Regions from separate parts of the Homo sapiens genome. Here region 2 is linked to region 1. Evidence: promoter capture Hi-C in human tissues and cell types (Jung and others, 2019). All regions are on one chromosome and are shown on one strand. Each heading gives the region's core, a stretch centred on a gene start or on the middle of the fragment in contact. The rest is flanking DNA. Distances are from core to core; before and after follow the strand shown.

The links. The method cuts DNA at HindIII sites, captures the fragments that hold promoters and counts their contacts. A contact is called where the count stands out against the background at its distance.
Region 2: a fragment that was not itself captured here is called in contact with the fragment with the promoter of C9orf50 in region 1 in 1 of the 25 tissues and cell types used here (spleen).

What each region holds. Positions count from the first base shown.
Region 1 is chr9:129,617,561-129,622,652 of GRCh38, reverse strand. C9orf50 (chromosome 9 open reading frame 50) reads left to right here and starts at 1,552. Exons shown (of 7, transcript NM_199350.4): 1 at 1,552-2,586; 2 at 2,823-2,913; 3 at 3,017-3,133. The coding sequence starts at 2,079. It also overlaps a transcript of NTMT1 not described here. RefSeq lists an enhancer at 1,440-2,090. The HindIII fragment of the contact is 8,954 bases long and covers 4-5,092 here.
Region 2 is chr9:129,048,888-129,054,322 of GRCh38, reverse strand. MIGA2 (mitoguardin 2) reads right to left here. Exons shown (of 16, transcript NM_001329990.2): 5 at 4,825-4,942; 6 at 4,360-4,496. Among named protein-coding and RNA genes, the nearest start is that of MIGA2, 15 kb to the right of the region's middle. The HindIII fragment of the contact is 8,197 bases long and covers 1-5,435 here.

The sequences.
Region 1 (5,092 bases), core at 303-2,802:
GTACAGATGGTTACCTATAGAAATATTTATAGATATGTGTGTGTTTCATAGTATACACACACATTTCTTTGTCAGCTGAGACTGCCTGAAAGAAATGACATCTCAATAGCAAGAAGCACACCTAGCACCCAGACCTTGGATTATTATTATTATTATTTTTGAGATGGAGTCTCGCTTTGTCACCCAGGCTGGAGTGCAGTGGCATGATCTCAGCTCACTGCAACCTCCGCCTCCCAGGGTCAAGCGATTCTCCTGTCTCAGCCTCCCAAGTAGCTGGGATTATAGGTGCACAACACCATGCATGGCAAATTTTGGTATTTTTTGTAGAGACGAGGTTTCACCATGTTGGCCAGGCTGGTATTGAACTTCTGACCTCAGGTGATCCGCCCGCCTCGGCCTCCCAAAGTGCTGGGATTACAGGCGTGAGACACCGTGCCCCGCAGGGTCTGTTCATTTCTAGGTCCATTGTATTCTGACTGCCTGGTCTTGGGGTGGAAGTTCTACTTCCAGAGCCACCCAGCCTAAGCCTCCCAGATCTGGAAAGGGTAGGCCTGGCTGCCCTGGTCAGAGTCCCAGTGCCCCAGGTGGCTGCGGCCAGGGCATCCAGGGCACAATAGCCCCACCCTTAGTCCCCAGGCCTCAGTGCCCACTGCTACTCAGATGCCCAGGGGTGAGGGGCGGATCACAATGACCCTGAAGCGGCCCAGAGGCAGCCGGGAGGGGCTGGGAGAGGCACCAGGCAGGGATGATGGGCTCTACAGCCTGCCTGTAGAGAGCTCTAAACTCACAGGACCTTCTAGGGCCCCACCCAGAAGCCCACCAGGGTGAGTGTGACACTGCCCAGGAGTCAGCTCAGAGCTGACAACAATCTGGGAGTGGGGTGTGGTTGGGAGGAAGCAGGCTTAGAAACCCCTCAGTGTCAGAGCTGGGAGTAAGACTGGGGCTCTGCCTCCCAAAGGGGGAGTTTGTTAAAAGTCTGTGTCTTGGCCAGAAGTGGGGACTCACGCCTGTGATCCCAGCACTTTGGGAGGCCAAGGCAAGTGGATCACTTGAGCCCAGGAGTTCAAGACCAGCCCGTGCAACATAAATACAAAAAAATTCTACCCCATTTCTACAAAATATACAAAAATTAGCCAACTGTGGTGGTGTGTGCCTGTAGTCCCAGCTACTCAGGAGGCTGAGGCAGGAGGATCACTTGAGCCCAAGAATTTGAGGCTGCAGTGAGCTATGATGGTGCCATTGCACTCCAGCCTGGGTGACAGCAGGACCCCGTCTTAGCAAGACCCCATCTCTTTAACAACAACAACAAGAACAACAAACTGTCTTGGCTCCAGCAGAGACGTACTGAATCAGAATGGGGGCTGGGGGTAAGTCATCTGTATTTTCAACAGGCTCCCCACCCAGGGGTCTCTGAGGCAGCACCAGGGCTGGGAGGCTGCTGGTCAGGTCTCTCTTCCCTCAAGCTGGTTCCAGGTTTCCTAATTCCCAGTAGAGCGCTAATGACGGTAACAGTTCCACGCTTTGAACACTGCAAGGCAGGCTAAGTGCTCTCTCTACCAGCGGTGATGCGGTGATGCCGTTTCACGGCTGCAGAGAGGCAGGTGCTGCTATTATCCCCATTCTGCAGACCAGAGCCCCCAGGGAAGGCAGAGGGAAGTTAATTGGCTTGGCCAAGGTTACAAAGCTAATAAGTGGTGGAGCTGGGACTAAATCCTAAATAATAATAACTTTGAAATACTAAGAATGGCAGCTAGTCTATGTGTAAGCTTGGCCAGCGTGCCTGGCACTGTACCGAGCTTGCTGTTCTAAGACTGGCATGTACTTGCTCATTTAAACGTCACAGCAACCCCCAAAGTTGGCTACTCTTGCTGTCACCATTTTTCAGGTGAGGAAACAGAGGCTCTGGGAGCTCTCGCCTGAAGCCACTCGCTGTCCGCCGGGCCGGTGGCGTTCACCCCGCACCGCGCTGCCCCGCCCGGGGCACTATGGCCTGGGGCTGGACTATGCCCTCCCCACCTCAGCCGGCGCCCCCCACCCACGCGCGCTGAGGGTGCGGTGAGCTGAGTGCGGGGCCAAGCATGTTCTGGCGTCGACTTCGCCCAGGGGCCCAGGACCTGGCGCCCAAGGGGCTCCCTGGCGACGGAGACTTCCGACGCAGCAGCGACCCGCGGCTGCCCAAGCTGACCCCGCCCGCGCTCCGAGCGGCTCTGGGCGCGCGGGGCTCCGGGGACTGGAGGATCCCGGGGGGCGGCGCCGCGTGGTGGCCGGAAGGGGACGCCAAGCCCGGGGTGGGCGTCGGACGCCTCCCGCCGCGCCTGCCCGCCTTGCTCACCGCGACCCGGCGGGCCGTGCGGAAGCGGGGGCTGCTGCGGTCCCTGCTGCCGCCTCCCCTGCTGTCGGCCGGCGCGTCCCGGGAATCGGCGCCCAGGCAGCCAGGGCCTGGAGAGCGCGAGCGCCCCCGGAGGCGCGTGGCCAGGGAGGACCCCGACTTCTTGGGCGCCTTCCTAGGAGAGCTCCTCCCCAGCAGGTTCCGTGAGTTCCTGCACCAGCTCCAGGAGAAGTGCGCCGAGGAGCCGGAGCCACTGAGTGAGGCCCCGCGGGGCCCGGGGGGCGGGCCCGAGTCATTTCCGGTGGGGGGTGGTCCCTTGTGTCCCCGCACCCACCACCCCACCACCCAGGCTAGAAGGATGCTAATGTTAGCTGAGTATCTCAGAGCCCTCGCAACCCGTCCTTGAGGGCTGGTCTGCCATCACCCCGAGGCCACATGACTAGAAAGGACCGTCCCCCAGCCAAGGCTCACAACTGTTTCCTCCTGGCTCCAGCATCCCCAGCACCGCAACATCAAAGGGGTGTATTAGAGCACTGCCCAGGGTCTCCGCGGTGTCCCAACTGTTCATTCCTCCCAGACCTGTGGTAAGCGTCAGTCCGCTTCTTGGTGGGGACGGGGTTGCCATCGATGTTTCCAGGGCGGGACAGCCTGGCCACTCATGCCAGATGTGGCCTGTTTGTCTTTAAGGGGCCAGTCATCGCACCTCCAGGATAGTCTTACGAAGATTTCGCTCCAGCAGACACCTATTCTGGGGCCCCTGAAGGGTGATCACTCACAATTCACCACTGTCAGAAAGGCCAACCAGTGAGTGATGGGCGGGATAAGGGTAGGGTAGTGGAGGAAAGGGGCATTTCTTTCCTTCTTTCTTTCCTCTTTCGCCCATGAATGTATTCATTTATCCACCTATCTACCCATTCATCCATCCTTACATATGGCTGTCCGTGAATCAGATCTTCTACCAACCCATTCAAGATTCATTCGCCAGTTCATCAATGAATCAACCCATCCATTAATGAGGTCTTCTACCAACACATAATTCATCCATGAATCTATTCATATATTCATTTTCCCATTCACCCATCCATCTTTGCATCCATCTCATCCATGAACCAAGTCTTCTACAACCCGTTCATGAATCTCTCCATCTATCCATCCATCCTTCTGTCCACCCATTAATCTATCATGGACCCATGACTCCATCCATCCATACATTCACTCACCCACCCACCCATGAATCAGGTGTCCTGTGGATCCATTCATCTACCTGGCCAACCAGCTAGCCAGTCATCCATCTAAAACTCCCACACTTCGGCAGGGCACGGTGGCTCACACCTGTAATCCCAGCACTTTGGGAGGCTGAGGTGGGCGGATCACGAGGTTAGGAGATTGAGACCACCCTGGATAACACGGTGAAACCCCGTCTCTACTAAAAATATACAAAAAAAAAAAAAAAAACACAAAAAATTAGCCGGGCGTGGTGGCGGGCGCCTGTAGTCCCAGCTACTCGGGAGGCTGAGGCGAGAGAATGGTGTGAACCCGGGAGGCGGAGCTTGCAGTGAGCTGAGATTGTGCCATTGCACTCCAGCCTGGGTGACAGAGTGAGACTCCATCTCAAATAAAAATGAAATAAAATAAAATAAAATAAATAAAAAATAAAACTCCCACACTTCTATCCATCCATCCATTGATCCAATGACCAACCATCTACAAATCCTTCCATCCACTTGTAAACCCAGGACACTGTCCATCGCTAATCTAGTCATAAAGCCATCCACAAACCTACATACCCATCTACATAATCATCCAGCCACGCATCTGTCCATCTACCCATACATTCATAGTTCAGTTCTATTCAGACCCTTTCATTAACTCACCCATCAGTCCATCCACCCATCAACCCACCCACCCAGTCTTCCATCATTTTACCCATCCCACCATCATTTGTCCATTTCTTACTCTAACTTTTATTAGGTTTTACTATATGTTGAATATTGGGAGAAAACTAAGGGATGGAGGTAAGAGAAGAGCCTAGGAATTGGAACCTACCTGGGCCTAGACACCATAGTTTTAACAGAGGAGGAAAAGAAGACAGAAACAGTTCCTCCAGGTTAAAATTCCTCCAGGCTTAAGCAGGGGTGAAGGGTGAATGGCACTGCCCATGAGTTTAAAGACCAGGGAGAGTAAATACATCACAAACATATCATTCTTCCTCATCTCATACCCACAGCAGACAAAACTAATGGATCATATTTCCCCACTGAGCCTCAGAACCATTCCTCACACAGTACTCTAGGTAGATACTCCTGATGGATCAGGGTAGGAACTAGAAATGGAACACATGGCCAAGCATGGTGGCTCATGCCTATAATCCCAGTGCTTTGGGAGGCTGAGGCAGGAGGATCGCTTGAGCCCAGGAGTTTGAGACCAGCCTTGGTAACATGGTGAAACCCTGTCTCTACAAAAATTACAAAAATTAGCTGGGCGTGGTGGTGCATGCCTGTGGTTCCAGCTACTCGGGAGGCTGAGGTGGGAGGATTGCTTGAGCCTGGGAGGTTGAGGCTGCAGTGAGCCAAGATCGTGCCACTGCACTCCAGCCTGGGTGACAGAGCAAGACCCTGTCTCAAAAAACAAACAAACAAACAAAAACAGTGAAACACATTTACCAACCTCAGAACGTTCAACCAATCAGGCCAAATATACACATGACTTCTCACAAGATACAAATAAATAAAAGTATGGAATTCATTCTCTCAAATGTGAGCA
Region 2 (5,435 bases), core at 229-2,728, 570 kb after region 1:
GCCACCATGCCCAACTAACTTTTTAATTTTTTGCAGAGATGGGCTCTCACTATGCTGCCCAGGCTGGTCTTGAATTTCTGGGCTCAAGAAATTTTCCTCCACCTCGGCCTTCCAAAGCACTGGGATTACAGGTATGAGCCACCATGCTGGACCAGGGGTTTCTTATTGGGATAAAAATGCTCCAAAACTGATTGTGATAATAGATACACAATTTTGTGAATATACCAAAAGCTACTCAATTGTACAGTTTAGATGCTATGTGAATTATATCTTTTCTTTTTCTTTTTGTAGAGACAGGGTTGCCCAAGCTGGAGTGCAGTGGCACAATCATAGCTCACTGCAGCCTTGAACTCCTGGGCTCAGGTGATCCTCCCACCTCAGCCTCCCGAGTAGCTGGGACCACAGGAACATGCCATGACACCCAGCTAATTGGTCACGCCACTGCACTCCAGCCTGGGCAGCAGAGTAAGACCCCGTCTCAAGAAAAAATTTTTTTGAGACAGAGTCTCACTATGTTGCCCAGGTTGGTCTTGAACTTCTCCCTCACTGGCTCAAACAATCCTCCCACCTCAGCTTTCCAAAGTATTGGAATTACAAGTGTAAGCCACTGTGCCCAGCCTATATTTCAATAAAACTGTTTAAAAATTATAGCAATAGGCCAGGCGCAGTGGCTCATGCCTGTAATCTCAGCACGTTGCGAGGCCGAGGCGGGCGGATCACCTGAGGTCAGGAGATAGAAACCAGCCTGGCCAACATGGTGAAACTCCATCTCTACTAAAAATACAAAAAAAATTAGCCGGGCGTGGTGACACATGCCTGTAATCCAAACTACTCGGGAGGCTGAGGCAGGAGAATCGCTTGAACCTGGGAGACAGAAGTTGCAGTGAGCCAAGATTGCGCCACTGCACTCCAGCCTGGGCAACAAAAGCGAAACTCCGTCTCAAAAAAAAAAAAAATTATAGCAATAGACAGAAAAAAATGCCTGAAGGAATAGAAAGTGGTGATGCCTGGATGAAGGGCTGCAGGCACCCCTTGTAGGATTGTAAGGTTGTAGGCGTCCTGGCATGTAGATATGCCACAGATCATTAACTGAGCACCTACTATGGACCAGGCCTGAACAGCTGGTGCTGGCGCCCCCACAGAGCGCCAGTGCTCCAGGAGGCCGAGGGTGCCACACCACACAACCATGGGCTGTCTGATCAGAGTCTGGGATCAGACTATTTTACACCCCCTTCTCTTTCCTATTTCTGTACTTTTCATTATTTGATAAGGAATATGTAATTGCTTTCACAACAAGGAAAACAATGCAAATTCTATCATTTTCAGATATAGTTTTTAGCAAGAAATACAATTTGGGAAATAAAGCTACCTCCCTTGAGTCCCCCTCACCAACACACTCCTACAGGTGCCCGTTCCCTGCCGACTCGCAGACAGGACCTGACGCAGCTGCAACTGCAGGCACTCAAGGGTTTGAGTCACTTCAAACCTCAGGTATTTCCCTGACCTTCACATCCTGAGCTCACGCCCCAGCAGGGACAGAGAGCATGGACACCTTCAACTTGTTACCAGCTGTGCCAGACACAGCCCTCCCCTTGTTCTGCAACCTGTTTCCCAGGTCCCCCTGCCAGCTGGCTCTCGGCCAATGGGACACACGGGTAGAGGAATGAAGGCAAGGGTGAGGGAGGAATAGGCAGAGAAATCCTCCCTCCTCCTTCTACCTCCGCTGCCAAAAGTGGCCCCATCCCCTCAAATTCCTGGGCTCAACTGGTCCTCCTGCCTCGGCCTCCCAAAGTGCTGGGATTACAGGTGTGAGGCACCGTGCCTGGCCACAAAAATTTAAATTTTAGCCTTTTAACTTCATTTTCCTTTCCTGATATTGCAATAATAAATATTCACTGTAGGCTGGGTGTGGTGGCTCAAGCCTGTAATCCCAGCACTTTGGGAGGCCGAGGCGGGTGGATCACTTGAAGTTAGGAGTTCGAGACCACCCTGGCCAACATGGTAAAACCCCATCTCTACTAAAAATACAAAAATTAGCCGGGCGTGCTGGCAGGCACCTCTGACTCTGGCTTCTCAGGAGGCTGAGACAGAATCGCTTGAACCCAGGAGGTGGAGGCTGCAGTGAGCCAAGATCACGCCACTGCACTCCAGCCTGGAAAACAGAGTGAGGCCACACCTTAAAAATAAATAAATTACAGGCTGGGCGCGGTGGCTCACGCCTATAATCCCAGCACTTTGGGAGGCCGAGGCGGGCGGATCACGAGGTCAGGAGATCAAGCCCATCCTGGCTAACACAGTGAAACCCTGTCTCTGCTAAAAATACAAAAAAATTAGCTGGGCGTGGTGGTAGGCACCTGTAGTCCCAGCTACTCCAGAGGCTGAGGCAGGAGAGTGGCGTGAACCCAGGAGGCAGAGCTTGCAGTGAGTCGAGATCGCACCACTGGACACCAGCCTGGGCAACAGAGTGAGACTCCGTCTCTAATTAATTAATTAATTAATTAATTAATTACATCCTGGCTAACATGGTGAAACCCCGTCTCTACTAAAAAATACAAAAAATTAGCCGGGCATGGTGGCAGGCACCTGTAGTCCCAGCTACTGGGGAGGCTGAGGCAAGAGAATGGCGTAAACCTGGGAGGCAGAGCTTGCAGTGAGCCGAGATCACGCCACTGCACCTCCAGCCTGGGCGGCAGAGCAAGACTCCGTCTTAAAAAAAAATAATAAAATAATAAATAAATAAATAAATAAGCCAGGCACGGTGGCTCACGCCTGTAATCCCAGCACTTTGGGAGGCCAAGGCGGGCGGATCATGAGGTCAAGAGATGGAGATCATTCTGGCCAACATGGTGAAACCCCGTCTCTACTAAAAATACAAAAATTAGCTGGGCGTGGTGGTGCACACCTGTAATCCCAGCTACTTGGGAGGCTGAGGCAGGAGAATCTCTTGAACCCAGGAAGCGGAGGTTGCACTGAGCCGAGATCGCGCCACTGCACTCCAGCCTGGCAACAGAGTGAGACTCCGTCTCCAAAAAAAAAAATAAATAAATAAATAAATAAATAAATAAATAATTCACTGTTGAAAACTTGGATGTTGCCCAAAAAGTCCCCAAAAAAGTGTATTAAAGAAAAAAAAGCCCAGGCGCGGTAGCTCACGCCTGTAATCCCAGCACTTTGGGAGGCCGAGGCAGGCAGATCACCTGAGGTCAAGATCACCTGAGGTCAGGAGTTCGAGACCAGCCTGACCAATACGATGAAACCCCATCTCTACTAAAAATACAAAAATTAGCCACATGGGGTGGCATGCGCCTATAATCCCAGCTACTTGGGAGGCTGAGACAGAAGAATCGCTTAAACCCGGGAGGCGGAGGTTGCAGTGAGCCAAGATCGCACCATTGCACTCCAGCCTGGGCAACAAGAGCGAAACTCTGTCTCAAAGGAAAAAAAAAAAGAAAAAAAGGGTGCAGTGGCTCACACCTGTAATCTCACCACTTTGGGAAGCCAAGGCAGGCGGATCACGAGGTCAAGAGTTCAAGACCAGCCTGGCCAATGTGGTGAAACCCCGTCTCTACTAAAAACACAAAAAATTAGCTGGGTGTGGTGGCAGGCACCTGTAATCCCAGCTACTCAGGAGGCTGAGGCAGGAGAATCACTTGAACCCAGGAGGCGGAGGTTACGGAGAGCCAAGATTGCGCCACTGCACTCCAGCCAGAGTGACAGTGCAAGACTCCATTTCAAAAAAAAAAAAAAAACAGCTGGGTACGATGGCTCACGCCTGTAATCCCAGCACTTTGGGAGGCCAGGGAGGGTGGATCATGAGGTCAAGAGTTCAAGACCAGCCTGGCCAACATGGTGAAACCCTGTCTCTACTAAAAATACAAAAATTACCTGAATGTGGTGGCGGGCGCCTATAATCCCAGCTACGCAGGAGGCTGAGGCAGGAGAATCGCTTGAACCTGGCAGGTGAAGGTTGCAGTGAGCCAAGATTGCGCCACTGCACTCCAGCCTGGCAACAGAGCGAGACTCCATCTCAAAAACAAAACAAAACAAAACAAAACAAAGGCCAGGCAATGCAGCCAACCCTCAACAGAGGCGCCTTCCCTTCCAGCCTTTCAGGACCACACGTTGCCCTTCACAGGGTCGAGGCGGGTGTGAGTCTCAGTACGGCTGTTTTTACCAAGCGCCGGGCATTGTGCTGAGCACGTGACATGAATTGTTTTGTTTCACATCAAGACACCCTCATAGAGGGAAATCAGCAGTCTCAGAGGACAGGAGACTGCCTGCCTCCCAAGGTGTGGCCGCCCCTCTCCTGTGCTGCCAACTTTATCCCATGGGCGTAGGGGGATGCAGAAGACCACCTACCTCAGACAGTGGCTCTGATGCAGTCTCTGGGTTCCGGAGGCCGTCCCTGGGCATGGGGGTGCTGCCGCTGTCCCCCCGCTGGCCCACGCTTAGTGCCTGCTCCCACTTCTGCAGAGCTTCCTCAAACAGCTCCATGCCTGAGCACAGGTGAGGCGAAAAGCGTGGGTCAGCACCTCCACAGTCTCACCCAAGAGGGGGCTCAGAACATCAAGGAGGCAGGAGGGCCTTGAAGGGCAAGAACTGGGTGGGACCGTGTGGCCTGGGCTGCTCAGGTTCCAGGCCTTCTTTCAGACCAGGTTTGTTCCTAGACACTGTCCCTTGTTCAGAAATGGCTGGAAATCACCCAGTTGGGATTTGGGGCAGGGTAGTGAGGGGCAAAGTGACCCAAGACTGGCCAAGCTCCTAGGAAGGGACTGTTCCTGCCACCCACCCTGCCCTCGAAGCTGAGGCACCTCCTGGCCACACCTTGCATGTACAGGCTCTCTGCATTGCCGTCGCTGGTGGTCAGAGACTCCTCCATCCCTCTGGCATCCCATAGTCCCGAGCACGCGGCTGTGGGGCTGGATGAGTTCACTGCCATCATCTGGGCGCCAATCAGTGCAAGAAGAAAGAGTGAAGCTTTCCCGGGCTCTCTGCAGGGCCCCCCTGAGCCCTCCTCCACTGCCTGACCATGGGCCACACGCCCCCTCCAAATGCCATCCCTGAGCTTGTTCCTAGCCACAGCGTCCACACCCTCAGAATGGCCTGGACCCACAAACTGCCTGATGGTGCTTCATAGAAAGAAGCCACCAAAGCAGGAAGGAATCCTGAGACCAACACCCAGCCCAGGAACCTGGGAATCCCTCTGAGCCCTGCTCCTGACTGCTGTATCCATCCCCTATGCCGGGGCTCCTCTACCCCTTGAACAAGAAGACAGAGAGTACCCATTCTGTGCCAGGGTCCTGCCTCTCATCCACACGAGTGGCTGGCAGCCCCAGGACAAGAACCAGCTCTTGCTTGCCCCTGTGCCAGCCTGGCTCATAGCTGGGACTCTGCTTGCTGGATGAGTGAATGAACCAAAAGCCACACCCCAGAAG